Regions from separate parts of the Homo sapiens genome. Here region 1 is linked to region 2. Evidence: promoter capture Hi-C in human tissues and cell types (Jung and others, 2019). All regions are on one chromosome and are shown on one strand. The core of a region is centred on a gene start or on the middle of the fragment in contact, and the rest is flanking DNA. Distances in the headings are between cores, read along the strand shown. Region 1 holds the start of CACNG8 (calcium voltage-gated channel auxiliary subunit gamma 8). Region 2 holds the start of ZNF761 (zinc finger protein 761).

Region 1 (6,992 bases), core at 4,285-6,784, 530 kb after region 2:
ATGTGAGATGCTGGGGACTGAAAGATATCGCCCCTCCAAAGGAAGGAACCAGCAGGAGCAAACACTAGGTAAATAGATTTAGGGAACACAGGTTATTCCTGTTTCTGCCAGCCCCCAGGAGGGAGCAGTAAAGGTGTGCTGGGTTAAATGACTATGAATTTCACCTATTGTTGGCCGCCCTCCACCCCCATAACCCCTATTGTCTCAGAGCCTCAGGTTACTCATGGTTAATGTAGGAACATTGGTGCCCACACGGCAAAGATTCTGTAGGACTTCTGTAAGACAGCGAAGCATGCCAACAGCCTTCAATCAGCCATGGCTACTAGTTCTTAGTTTCTGATAACATTTTTACGAGGATCGGGTCTTGAGTAAACGGCTTGCCTAGAGCCACGTGCAATCCCACTTCCCATCCGCGTTCTCACTTGGTTGGAGGCAGCTTCTGTGCCCTTTATAACCAAGAGCAACTGAGTATAGAGGAGAAGAAGTGTTTTGTCCAAGGTCACACGAAGCCTTGGGAGCATCCGTGAAATTTGGACCCAAGACCGAACTTTCAGACTCTGATCTCAGACTTTCCACCTCCGATTGTTCCACTTCCCCAACCTACTAGCTAGTTCTAGAACGGACAGATCCATGCTTCTCAAAACTGTTGCATAGACCCCTACCCAGTCCCAGACAAGTTTCTTTAAGACATATTTGCACCCAAGCTTTTGGCATTCTACTCTCCTTCCCAGCCCCAGCCCCATCTCGGGGGCATCTAACTCTACCCCTTCTTCCCCATCAGGTTTGAACTAGGGGAGGGGAGGGGGATGAGAAGAGAAAAGAAAAAATTGTTGGTGAAAGTCAAAAGGCTTGTTAACGTGGTAAGTTCAATATTGTTTTATCTGGGGTGGTGGGGGGGGAATCTTTGCCCTCGCCACTTGGAGGAGGAGCGGTGGGAAGACCCCGGGAAGTTGCGCTTTCCCTTGGATTTTGGGAAAGGGGAGCATTCCTGGGGTCCTTTTGAAAAGGCCCTCCCCTCATTTCCGGCCGCCGCTGCCAGCCTTGGCTGGGCGCCTGGATCCTGTTGCTATGACGACAGGAAGAGGCGGTGGCGGCGGCAAGCGATGCTGAAGAGAGATGGAGGCTAGTGGGGGTGGGGGTGGTGGCATTGGAATGGGGGAGGGGGCAGGGATCCGGGGCTGGGGACGCGGGAGGGGGCGGGGGCAGGGGTATCCTTCATCTCTGACCTCCTCGGGGCTTCTCAGCCTCACCCCTCTCCCGTTATTTTTTCTGGGCTTCCTTCGGGTGCATCCCCAGTCTCTGTGTCTGCCTCTGTTTCTCTGGATCTCTCTCTCTTCCTGTCTCAGTCCCTCTCCGTCTGTCTCTCTCTGGGTCTCCCTCTTTTCCTGCACTTGCCTTTCTTTCCCCAGGTACCTTCTGCCATCCAGGCCCTTCTACCCTCCATTTCTTTCATTTACTATCTTGCTCCCCCGCTCCCTCTCCGCATCTTCTTCTCTCTTTAAAGCTTCCTTCTCTCTAGCAAGACCTTGCCCCCATCCCCAATTTCTCTCCCTACCCGCTCTCCATTTCATTCCCTCTCCCCCCTCTCTCCCCCATCCTCTCAGTCTCTCTCTTTCTGTCTGTCTCTCCCCATCTGTCCCTCCTCCCTCCTCTCTGGATGACTCTCTCCCTCTCTCTTCTTTCCTTCTGTTTCCCAGATCCTGACCCCCCCCACACACACACTTACCCCAGCCCTCCCCCACCCCCTCCCCCCCAGCCCCTGCGTTTCTCTCTTTGAGTCTCTGTCCCTGTCCCCTTCTCTCTCTGGATATTTCTCTGTGTGTATCTCTCCAACTTCCTTCTGCTTCCAGCCGCTGCCTCCCCCAAATTTCTCCCTCCCCCATTTCTGTTTCGCGGTCTCTGGGTCTCTCTCTTTCCGTTTCTCCTCGTCTCTCTCTGTCTCTCTCCCTCCCTCTCTGGATCTCTCTCTTCTCCTCCGGCTTCCTTCTGCCACTCGACCCTGCCCCCCTCTTTCCCTTCCCCCATCCATCTCCTCTCCGAGGCTCCCCATCCCTCAGCAGCTCCCCTCCCCCTCCCTCCCTACTCCCTCCCTCTCGTCCTCCAGCTCCGCACTTTACCCAGCGACACGAGAACCAAATTGTCTCCTCACCTTTTTTTTTTAATATATATATCCCGACCCTCACTCCCTTGGGGCCCAGGCTCAGAGCTGCCCCCCAGCCCCAGCCTGACCTCAGCACCCCCATTCCCCATACGCCTCCTCATCTCCACTCCCCGAACCAGGTCGGACGCCTGGGTCCCTCACTGCTGGGGGAGGGGGAAGCAGCGAGAATTGGGAGCCAAAAGGTTTTTCTGGGGGGGGTGCCAACAGGGGGGGCTCGACGTCCCCTCCTCCGTGCATCGGAGAGTTGACCTATCATTAACAGAGGTGAGACAGATCTTTTTATTAATCGGAGGTGGGTGGAGGTAGAATTAATGTTCTGTGATCCCCCCCCCCGAATTCTGGAGAAAAGAGCTGGTCCCCTTCCTAAGGAGAAAGGAGAGTGACCCCCTCATATCCGGAAGCTTTAGAATTGGGGGTCCCCAGCTCTCTTCTCCCTGGCAGCTGCTGAACGATGGACTAAGAGTCCCTAAAACCAGATTGTGCCCCAAATTGACAAAATGAAAAGATCTTCGAATCTTTTTTTTTTTTTTTGGACGGAAGGAGAATTTCCCTCCTTTCCCTCCTCTTCCCTTCCCCTCTTATCCCAGGTTGTTAGGGGCCTGGGGTCACAGGCTTACCCCACTGAGAGCAGATATCTGTTAAGACAGGGTAGGTGGCCCTGCTGGTGGTGAGGGGCACCAATTCGGGGAGAAGAGGCCAAGAGATCAAGAAGAGAGGAAACTCAGCATGCGGACAGAAAAGAGAGGAAGGGGCCGGCGCCCAGGCCGGGAGGCTGGGGGTTGCCCTGTCCAGCGGGCTGCTGAACTGTGGCCTGAGGAAGGGCTGTGTGTGGGCAGACGGGAGTTGAGGTGGGGGAGGGAACACAACGTGTGGGGCACTAGGCCCAGTTGCCATGGAGACACCCCCCATAGACAACCTTTTTCCACAGCCCCTCCTCGGAGCAGCCCCAGTCTGAGGCCAGCTGATGGGGGGCAGTGGAGACGGGCAAGCAATCAGGAGGCCAAGGTCACCCTGTACTGGGACCTAGGTTCTGGTTTTTGTTTTGTTTTTTTTTAATCCCCTCTTCGTCTAAGGTTTCCAGGCTCTTAACTATAGTGGGTTTGGGGGAAGAAGTTGAAGAAGCAGTGTGGAAGCAAGTAAGGAGTACATCCCCCAGAGGACAGTTGGGGTGGGGGAGACAGGCAGGGCTGGGGGCATGGTGGTCGGGGGAGAATGTGGAAGAGAGAAATGAAGGAGCCACGGGGCAGCGGGTGCAGGCTGGGAAAGTATTCCTAATTGAAAAGAGAGTTGTAGTCTTGCGGATCACATTTTTCAGAGGGACACAGTCTACTGGGGGGGCTCTTTCTGCATGTGGAAGAAGATGAGGGGCTACAGTGTGTGTTCCTGTACAGGTGAAGTCGTAGAGGGGAGTACTGGGGGGCGTTCCCAAGAAGGGAAGCCTGTGGGGGCCTGCGGAGGGGATTTTCCGGGGCAGAGGAGAACCTGGGAGCTATAGCGGTGGAGCAAGAGGAAGTGAGTCAAGGGAATTCTATATGATGAGAGAGAAGTTGGGGAGGATGCTTCCTGGTACATTGAAGAGAGAGTGGGCTTCAAAGTGAGTTAGGGGGATCTCAAGTTGGGGGAAACAGTGTGCTGAAGATCCCGTGTGATGATGAAGGGCTACGAGGAGGGGATTTGGAGGCAGTGGGAGCTGCTGTGAGTGCAGAGGGGCGGGTGGGTGGTACAGTGTGCCCCCTGCTATGGGAGTACAGGGCAGAGATTGGAATGGTCCTGAGTGGAGAGACATTTGGGGTCTGGAGGAAGCCATTCTTGCGAGTAGAAAATGCCGTGGAACTCACGGAGGAAATTTTTCTTAATGGAGGAGAAAACGATGGTTATGATATGAGTTCGTTTAAGTTGTGGGGGGGGGGGTGGCGGGGTGGGAAGATTCAGAAAACTCTTCTAAAGCAAAAGAGAGGGTGGGGGTTTTCCTGGAGTAAAGGCATAGTATGGGGTGGGGAGTGAGTGGCTTGTGGGGAGACAGTGGGGGCTGTGACAGGGAATGGGCTGGAGATGGCGGGGGGGGGGCAGCTTGCAAACCAGTGGGTCTGATGTTGGGTGCATTAGAATTCCCCAGGGAGCTTTTAAAAACTTACATGCGCAGGCCACACTGCAGACCAACCATGTCGGACTTTCTCAGGTGGGACTCAAACATCCGAATTTTTAAGGTCCTCGGGTGATTTCCAGGTGTGTTGGAGGCTGCCCGAGGCAGGAAGGGGGCTTCCAGGGAGAGGAGGCTGACTGAGGGTGGCTGGTGATTCCGAGTTGCACAAACTGTGAGGGTCAGCTGGGATTTTCTTTTTCTTTTTCTTCTTCTTTTAATTTTTCCTTTTTAGTTGAAGAGAGGTTGAGAGATTTATTTTTTCCTAAGGAGAGGAAACTGTGGGGGACCATTTGGAGTGATGGAATGACAAAAGCCAGACCGGAGGGGGCTCGCGGAGGTTACTCCCACGGAAGTGGTGCTACTCGGGCTTCTTAAGTTGTGGAGACGCTCAGGGAAAAGTTGGGCTGACAGGGAAGGGTTCTAGCGGGTGGAGAGGTGGGGCTTGCAGGGGAAGAGTGGGGAGAGCTGGTGGGCGCCGCATGGTGATGGGGCGGGGGTCGCTAAGGAAGGAAGAACGCGACGGGGGCTCCTGGGGAGGAGGCGGCGGCGTGGGGCTTGGCATCATGGCGGGGGGTGGCTTCCCATGCGATGAGGATCGTGGAGCCCCCTGGGGCGGAGGCGGCGCGGGCTAGGGGCGAGGGCTGTGAGTGTGAGCGGTGGTGGGGACTCCTCCGAGTGGGGTTAGTGGGATGGTGGGACGACTTTCTTGGGCAGAAGACAGGAGTGGAGAGAGATTTCATCTTATTTATTAATTATTAGCGGTGGTGGGGACTCCTCCGAGTGGGGTTAGTGGGATGGTGGGACGACTTTCTTGGGCAGAAGACAGGAGTGGAGAGAGATTTCATCTTATTTATTAATTATTAGCGGTGGTGGGGACTCCTCCGAGTGGGGTTAGTGGGATGGTGGGACGACTTTCTTGGGCAGAAGACAGGAGTGGAGAGAGATTTCATCTTATTTATTAATTATTAGCGGTGGTGGGGACTCCTCCGAGTGGGGTTAGTGGGATGGTGGGATGACTTTCTTGGGCAGAAGACAAGAGTGGAGAGAGATTTCATCTTATTTATTAATTATTATTATTATTATTATTATTATTATTATTTTTGAGAAAGAGAAGCAGTGGAGCCCCGAGTGGAAGGAGTTTCTGGAGCTGAGGCAGGGATTTTGGGGGGGGGGGGGCGGGGACTGGGGGAGGTACCTGTGCCTTCTTCTCCTCTAATGCGAGATCTCGCTCCTTGCCCTCCACCAGCCGCCGACCATGGCCGCGCTCTGACCCCCTCCCCGGCCGCAGCCTCCTCCTCGCCGCCCCCCTCCCCAGCCCCGCCGGCCCCGGGCCCCCCGCTTCTGCCTGCGCTGTGAACCCCCCCCCAGCCGCCGGCACGGCCCCGCCCCCGCTGCCCCGGTGGTGGCCCACGGCCCCCCGGCTGCCCGTGGTCAAACTGGAGTCGCTGAAGCGCTGGAACGAAGAGCGGGGCCTCTGGTGCGAGAAGGGGGTGCAGGTGCTGCTGACGACGGTGGGCGCCTTCGCCGCCTTCGGCCTCATGACCATCGCCATCAGCACTGACTACTGGCTCTACACGCGCGCCCTCATCTGCAACACCACCAACCTCACGGCCGGCGGCGACGACGGGACCCCCCACCGCGGGGGCGGCGGCGCCTCGGAGAAGAAGGACCCCGGCGGCCTCACGCACTCGGGCCTCTGGAGGATCTGCTGCCTGGAAGGTAGGGTGCGGGCGGCCCTCCCCGCAGCCCCCGCCGCTCCCCTCCGAGAGACCCTGAGCCTCCCGGGGCTGCCTGTCCCTGATCCTGGGGCCCCCTTGGGCACCCCTCCTCCTCTGCCAGAGGGGCTTCTGCGCCTTCCCACTCGCGCCCCTGACCTCCTCTCCCCTCCTTCCCACTCCTCCCTGCGTCCTGGCACCCTGCGGAATTCCTCGGCATGCTCCCTCTGCAGCCCCTCTGCCTCTCCGCTGAACCCCCTTATCCTATCTTTCCCTAGTCCGTGTCTCCTGCGCTGCCCCATCACACCCCTGCATCTTCCCTCTCTCCAGTACCTGGGGCTCCTCCTGTTTCATTTCTTCCACTCTGCCCTGTGCCTTTTCTCTTTTTTTTTTTTTTTTTGACAAGGTCTCACTCTGTCGCCCAGGCTGGAGTACGGTGGCACAATCACAGCTCACTGCAGCCTCGAATCCCTAGGCTCAAGCCATCCTCCCACCTCTGCCTCCTGAGTAGCTGGGACCACAGGCATGAGCCACTGTGCCCAGCTAATTTTTTTTATTATTTGTAGAGATGAGGTCTCCTGTTGCCCAGGCTGGTCTCGAGCTCCTGAGCTCAAGAGATCCTCCTGCCTTGGCCTCCAAAGTGCTGGGATGAAGGGCATGAGCCACTGCACCCAGCAGCCTCTTTCTCCCTCTTTCCCGTCAGTTCATCTTGACCCTGCTCCTCCGCTCCACCTGCCCCTTCATTTCCTCTCCCTCGTGCCCCGTGACATCTTCTCTCTCCCGACATTTCCCCCCCAGTCCTCTGAAGTCCCCTGCCTCTCCCGCCCCCTTTCACGGCCCAGTCTTCCGGTCTGTCTCTTTCCCCTTCTCTTTGGCTGCTGCTCCCCTGAAACTTCGTGCCTTAACTCGCCCTCACTCATGACTTTCTCTCTTTTCTGCCTTGTGCTTCTCCTCCTGTTCATCTTTCTCTTCC
Region 2 (6,205 bases), core at 3,706-6,205:
CGCCTTCCGGGGAGGCGTGATTAGCCACCACGCCCGGCTAACTTTTGTATTTTAGTAGAGATGAGGTTTCACCATCTTGGCCAGGCTGGTCTCGACCCCCTGATCTCAGGTGATCCACTTTGCCCAGCCTCCCAAATTGTTGGGATTACAGGTGTGAGCCACCACGCCCAGCCCCTTTGCTCTTTTTTAATAGGGTTATTACTATTACCATATTTGCTTTTGAGTTGTGAGTGTTCCTTATATATTTTGGATATAAACTCCTTATCACAGGTATGGTATATATGGTTTGAAATATTTTCTCCCATTATCATGCCCCAATATCACTAAGTTACATTTCACTGCTCCCTCTTGAACACCTGAAAAAATTTCCTATTTCCATGTGTCTGTATCCAGGTTATTGTCACTTTTACCTGAAGACACATTTATATATGCTGATATTCCCCAATAACTAATATATTTTTACTCTTTTTTTTTTTTTTGAGATGGAGTCCTGCTCTGTCACCCAGGCTGGAGTGCAGTGGCATGATCTCAGCTCACTGCAACCTCTGCCTCCCAGGTTCAAGTGATTCTCCTTCCTCAGCCTCCCAGGTTGCTGGGATTACAGGCACATGCCACCACCACTAGCTAATTTTTTTGTATTTTTATTAGAGATGCGGTTTCACCACATGGGTCAGGCTGGTCTTGAACTCCGGACGTCATATGATCCACCCGCCCTTGGTCTCCCAAGGTGCTGGGATTATAGGCATGAGCCGCTGCACCCGGCCCTAACTAATATATTTTAAATAACTTTTTGCTCTTGGCACATGGACTAAAACCACATCACCAGGCCTTCAATGACGTCCAATGTCTGCCATCTTATTTCCACTCCAGCTCCGCCCCAGGCATAGTTGCCTTTCTTTTTATTGAAGCCTTCTCCTTGCCAAGTTAATTAAAGAGAATGTTTTCTTCATCAAATTAGAAATTACATCCTCAGAGCTTTCCAGTATTTGTAGTTCTTACAGGCCACATTTATTACAAGTTTATAGACTCCAAACTTCTCCACTGAACAGTTAATAAAAAGGACACAGGCTTATTGTAAAATAATTCATTTAGTGCCTGCCATTCTGATTACACTAGAAATTTAGTTCTCCTGCTCAGCGTTCTGTTATGTGACTGTTCAATGCATTACTTAAAACTGCAAGATTGAATAGAGAGATCAGCTTCTGACACTGATGAATGCAAACCACAAGAAACCAAGTCTCCTCTGCAAAATGATGAAAACACTCGCAAAGTCACTAAAATCAATCATTTCAGACTTCTGAAATTTACCAAAGCCACAGAACAAAGTGAAAAGTATCTATCCCACAGAAAGTACCAAACTTCAGTAAGACAGCAGCATTTGTGTCATTTTAATGTGGAGGCATTACCATTACCCTCCATCCTTCGTTCAGTGTAGAGCACTGACCTCTTTTGAAGCTCCTTTTAAACACCTCCTATCAGGCCAGTCGCGGTGGCTCAAGCCTGTAATCCCAGCACTTTGGACGACAGAGCGAGACTCCATCTGAAAAAAAGAAAGAAAAAAAAAAGAGAAAGTGACTTTTCAAGACTGTGATTTATGGTCTCCCCTGGGAACCAACAGTATCTGTGCTGAGAGCAGATATTTGGGTGGAAGGGGCTCTGGTGTGCAGGGCATGCCTTCTGTAGCTCAGTGCTTCTGACAATGGGTCCGAGGGGAGAAACATTGGCATTAACAGGGAACTTGTTAAAGATGCCAATTTATAAATGCTACCTCAAACCTGCAGAATCAAACATTATTACAGTGGGTTGTGGAGTGCCAGATGACTTATATTCACCTTAAAGCTTGAGAGTCAGTGCTTAGCTAAGAGGCTCTCAGCCCAGGCTTCCAGTTGGATCAAATGGTCATATTCAGTTACTACCATCACCTGTGCCCTCCCCATAGCGTCTGTCTATTGGTGTCGGGGGAAACATCCATGCTGTTTCAATTAACTACCCTGCCCCCAGGTGATTCTAGGGTGAGGAGAAGTCCAGCATGAGGGCTTCCATATGCATTTGTGAAGGTTGATGGCAGACTGTTCCAAATGAGAATAATGGTTTCCGTGATATGATAAAAGCAATGCTATTGAATATGATGATGACTGATGAGAAGTTTTGCATAGCATTCGCTGTAAAAAAGCCACTTATAGGCTGGGCACGGTGGCTCACGCCTGTAATTCCAGCATTTTCGGAGGCTGAGGTGAGCAGATCACCGGAGGTCAAGAGTTCAAGACCAGCCTGGCTAACATGGTGAAACCCTGTCTCAACTAAAAATGCAAACATTAGCCAGATGTGGTGGTGGATGCCTGTAATCCCAGCTACTTGGGAGGCTGAGGCAGGAGAACTGCTTGAATCTGAGAGGTGTAGGTTGCAGTGAGCTGACATCATGCCTCTGCACTCCAGCCTGGGTGAGAGAGCAAGACTACGTCCAAAAAAAAAAAAAAAGAGAGAGAGAATTTTCCTGTAAATAATTAAAAAGACTAAGCAGCCCCAGAGATAAGACCTCCTGGGATCATTGTCCCTTTATATTGAGTGATAAAGTAACCTTCCTTGAAGTATATCAATCCATAACCAATCACCTTGCTGCACCCTATGTACTGGTCTTGAATGGAAAATGTGGTGATTCTTCTAAAGCTTCTCTGTCTTTCCGTGTGTGTGAAACCTAAGGGAACGCTGATCCCATTCATTTGGAGTTGATGTTTCCAGGTGGCTATCCTCATGCTTTGTGTTCAAATAAACTCTGTGCTTAATCATATATTCTAAATTTTATTATTTACTGCTGATATCAGTTTCTGTCAGACTGTAGGAGCCTCACCAGAGAGGGCACCTGTCGCTATGTTGTAAAACTCACACTTGTCAGAAAGACATGGGTTAGTGTTACTCCCCGTCCCTCAGAATGAAGCTAATTAGCTGACACAGATGGTCACCTCCATTACCAAGTAGAGTCAGGATGAACTATGTGTGACCAAGAGTGTTGTCAAGTCCTCTTCCCTGAGGACTGATTAGCGTTTATCTTGAAAACATGTCCTTAATGGGTTGTATAGAACAGTAAAGTTTCTTTCTCTTTTTTCAACCTCTTAGCTGTTTGCCTGTATTTCGCATCACAATCTGGTCTAAGGCTTATTTATTAATGAAATGGTTTTAATTTCTTTCTCTATGATCATCGTGGAGATGATTTCTCATTTGGAGAAAGACTTTTTGTTTGTTTTCAATTATATTTTCTCAACAATTAGACAGTGAAGTAAAAAGTATTTTGGGGGGGCCAGGCACAGTGGCTCACGCCTGTAATCCCAGTACTTTGGGAGGCCGAGGCAGGTGGATCACTTGAAGTCAGGAGGTTGAGACCAGCTGGCCAACATGGGGAACCCACCTACAAAAATACAAAAATTAGCCGGGCATGGTGGCACGCGCCTGTAATGGCAGGTACTCCGGAGGCTGAGGCAGGGGAATCGCTTGAACCCAGGAGGCAGAGGCTGCAGTGAGCCCAGTTCCTGCCACTGCACTCCAGCCTGGGCGACAGAGAAATGCTCTGTCTCAAAATAAAAGAAAAGAAATAAGTAAATAAATAAAAGAAAGTAATAGATCTCTTCTACAAATGTGCTGGGACAACTAACTGGATATCCACATGGAAAAGAATAATGTATCCCTATCTCACACAATCAAAATTTTATTTTAACGTTAAAAAATGGAGAAAAAAAGAGAGAGAGACGAGGGAGGGAGTCCTGAGGGAGGGGTGTTACTTTGTCGCCCAGGCTGGCCTGGACCCCCAGGCTCAGCGATCCTCTCGCCGCTGCTTCCTGAGTAGCTGGGAACTCAGGCTCCCGCCCCCGCGCCTGAATCCTTGCTGTGTTTATCCAGCAGGTCGCCCCTGGCTGGCCTGAGCATTCCGTCCCGCATCCCAGGGGGAGGCCCTAGGGAAGTCTCTGCAGCTGAGCACGGGGTGGACTCTCCCTCCTGAGTGAGTGGAGAATAGAAAGGGAGAGGATTTCTGTTCTGTTCTGTGGGCCGTCAGCATGAAATCGTACGTTCCGCCCAGGCAGGGCCTTGCATTTTACATTCTAGTTTGTATCCCGTTCCAGACAATTCCAGGGCTTTTGAGTCCATGCGTCAGCCTTCCTGGGCGGTCTCACCTTCACCACCCGAAAACAGGTGCTAGGAGAGAAGCTGAGAGGAGCACCGGTCACGCCCCGGCCCCGCCCTCTGCCGGCTCTAAAGCGCAAGGTCTCTCCGCCTCGCGCCCCGCCCCTGCCTCGTCCAGGCCCCGCCCACCTCCTTGCGGGTCCCGCCCAGGCCTGGCTTCTGCTCTGCGCGCGCAGATTCGTGCAGACCAGGAAGCGGATAGCGTGGAGTGACGGTGCCACCGCGGCGCGTGAGTTTCGCCCTGTCTTGTATTAAGTCTGCTCTTCCAGGTTCCTGGCGCTTCTGTACCTGGGACTTGGGATCCCCACAAACCTGGAAATTCTCAGCCGTCTTCCTTCACTCAGAGCAAATTGAGACGACCTCGTGAGAGGCCGTGGGTCGGTTCCTTTTGGGTTTAAGGTCCCCCTGAGGCTGGTCCCGTCCCGGGTGTTTCTGCTACAGGGCAATGTATACACTTTCTAACCTGTAGTTTTCCTGCTGTAAACCTTTTTCTGACTCCTCCCGCCCCGCGCTTTTTAAAGTCCTCACCTGAGAGGTGGATTCTCGCCTTTGTCGGCCCCTGGAGCCCAGCGCCGCTGCCCCAGTCCCGGAAAGGCCGCGTCCTCTGCCTGGTCCTAGGATCCTGCAGACCCCACCCTTGCCTTAAGGTGCTGTCGCCCCTTCACCTCCCTCCTTGTGCCGGGCCCTGCTGCTCCACGGGTTTCGCCTCCACAATCACCGCTTCCCCTGAGCCCGCGTTGGGGAGGTGCCCGGGGCCTGTCCTGTGACGCGGGGTGTTACTGCCTGCCCAGCTCCAGCCCCTGGAAAATGCGCTCCCCCGGGATGCAGGCGTCTTACTCCAAACCCTCCTGTGACTGTGTGGGCCAAAGGGATCAGGAGACGGACAGAGAGCAGTGGAAAACCTGAGACAGAAAAGAAGAATGAGAAAGACCTATAACAGATGGCAAAGTAGAGGATGGGTGAGGGATTTGCCAAGAGACAGCAAAAGTGAAAAGAAAACGATAAGAAAGCAGGAGGAGAAAAGCAAGTGCAGAAATGTAGAGAAAAGCTGGATGTACAGAGAGATGAAGGACAGCAAGGTAGGGAGAGGGACAGCAAAGAGGGAGGCTCATCAGGGTGAGGGAGAGGAGGAGGGATTTGGAGCCAGGGCAGACAGAGCAGAGTGGTGCTGGTGGCAAGGAGAACAGAGGGAGAAGCACAGCAGGGAGGACACCTGGGGATCTGGGGTGCTAGAGAGTGGGGACAGGGGGGTATAACAGGGAAGAGAGAATTTAACGGGGAGAGCAAAGGAGGCGCAGAGATGGTGTTGCGGGAAACTGAGGACTAGACAGACTGATATGGGGGAGACAAAAGGATGTTTATTTAAGATACGCACCGGCTCAGTGGATTTACATCTAAAAAGCTGAGCATTTCAACAAAGACGGAGTGGGGTTTTTTGCTTTCAGAAGCAGAATAAAAGCAGTTAATCATATAATGATAGGTCATGTAATCTATAGCATAGCATAACTTGTGTCCTTCCATAGCTGGTGGCCTCGTAGCTGAGTTGAAAGAAAAACAAGAACAGCTAAATACACACATTTGTCCTTTTTTTTTTTTTCTTCACTCTTGTTCTGGGAAGGTGGGGGGCTGTCTGGAGCCCATTTCTTTGGCTTCGACTTCGCCAAGTCGAGCTTGCTAGGCAGAGGAAAACTTGTTCTTCTTTTCTTTTTAACCCTTGCCTTGCCTGTTACTTTTCTTGGAGTGAATGAATGCATGTTTGTTTTTTAACTTTCTGCCTCAGTTTTCTCCCTTAGATGCCTTTTATGAACAAGATTTTACTAGAAGACATCACTATTACTGGATTCTTCATGAAAGAGCACTGGCTGATATTTATATCGGGCTATTAGCTGAGTGGTAGTCTGCCTGGTCGCAATTGCTTCTATAGTTGATTGAATGCTCTTAACACGGAGAGGTAAGAGGTAAGGGAGTATCAAACCAATTCTTAGTATGGCTAGAACTACTCCTATTAAGGTTTTGAATCTACTGAAGGAGG

The links. The method cuts DNA at HindIII sites, captures the fragments that hold promoters and counts their contacts. A contact is called where the count stands out against the background at its distance.
Region 1: a contact is called between the fragment with the promoter of CACNG8 here and a fragment that was not itself captured in region 2, in 1 of the 25 tissues and cell types used here (liver).

Annotation. Positions count from the first base shown.
Region 1 is chr19:53,957,403-53,964,394 of GRCh38, forward strand. CACNG8 (calcium voltage-gated channel auxiliary subunit gamma 8) reads left to right here and starts at 5,535. Exons shown (of 4, transcript NM_031895.6): 1 at 5,535-6,023. The coding sequence starts at 5,741. RefSeq lists enhancers at 1-454, 2,665-3,565, 4,376-4,896. The HindIII fragment of the contact is 7,710 bases long and covers 2,034-6,992 here.
Region 2 is chr19:53,427,627-53,433,831 of GRCh38, forward strand. The region is part of intron 9 of ZNF765-ZNF761 (ZNF765-ZNF761 readthrough); the gene reads left to right. ZNF761 (zinc finger protein 761) reads left to right here and starts at 4,358. Exons shown (of 5, transcript NM_001289951.2): 1 at 4,358-4,402. It also overlaps the pseudogene TPM3P9. RefSeq lists a silencer at 4,235-4,314. The HindIII fragment of the contact is 5,404 bases long and covers 2,254-6,205 here.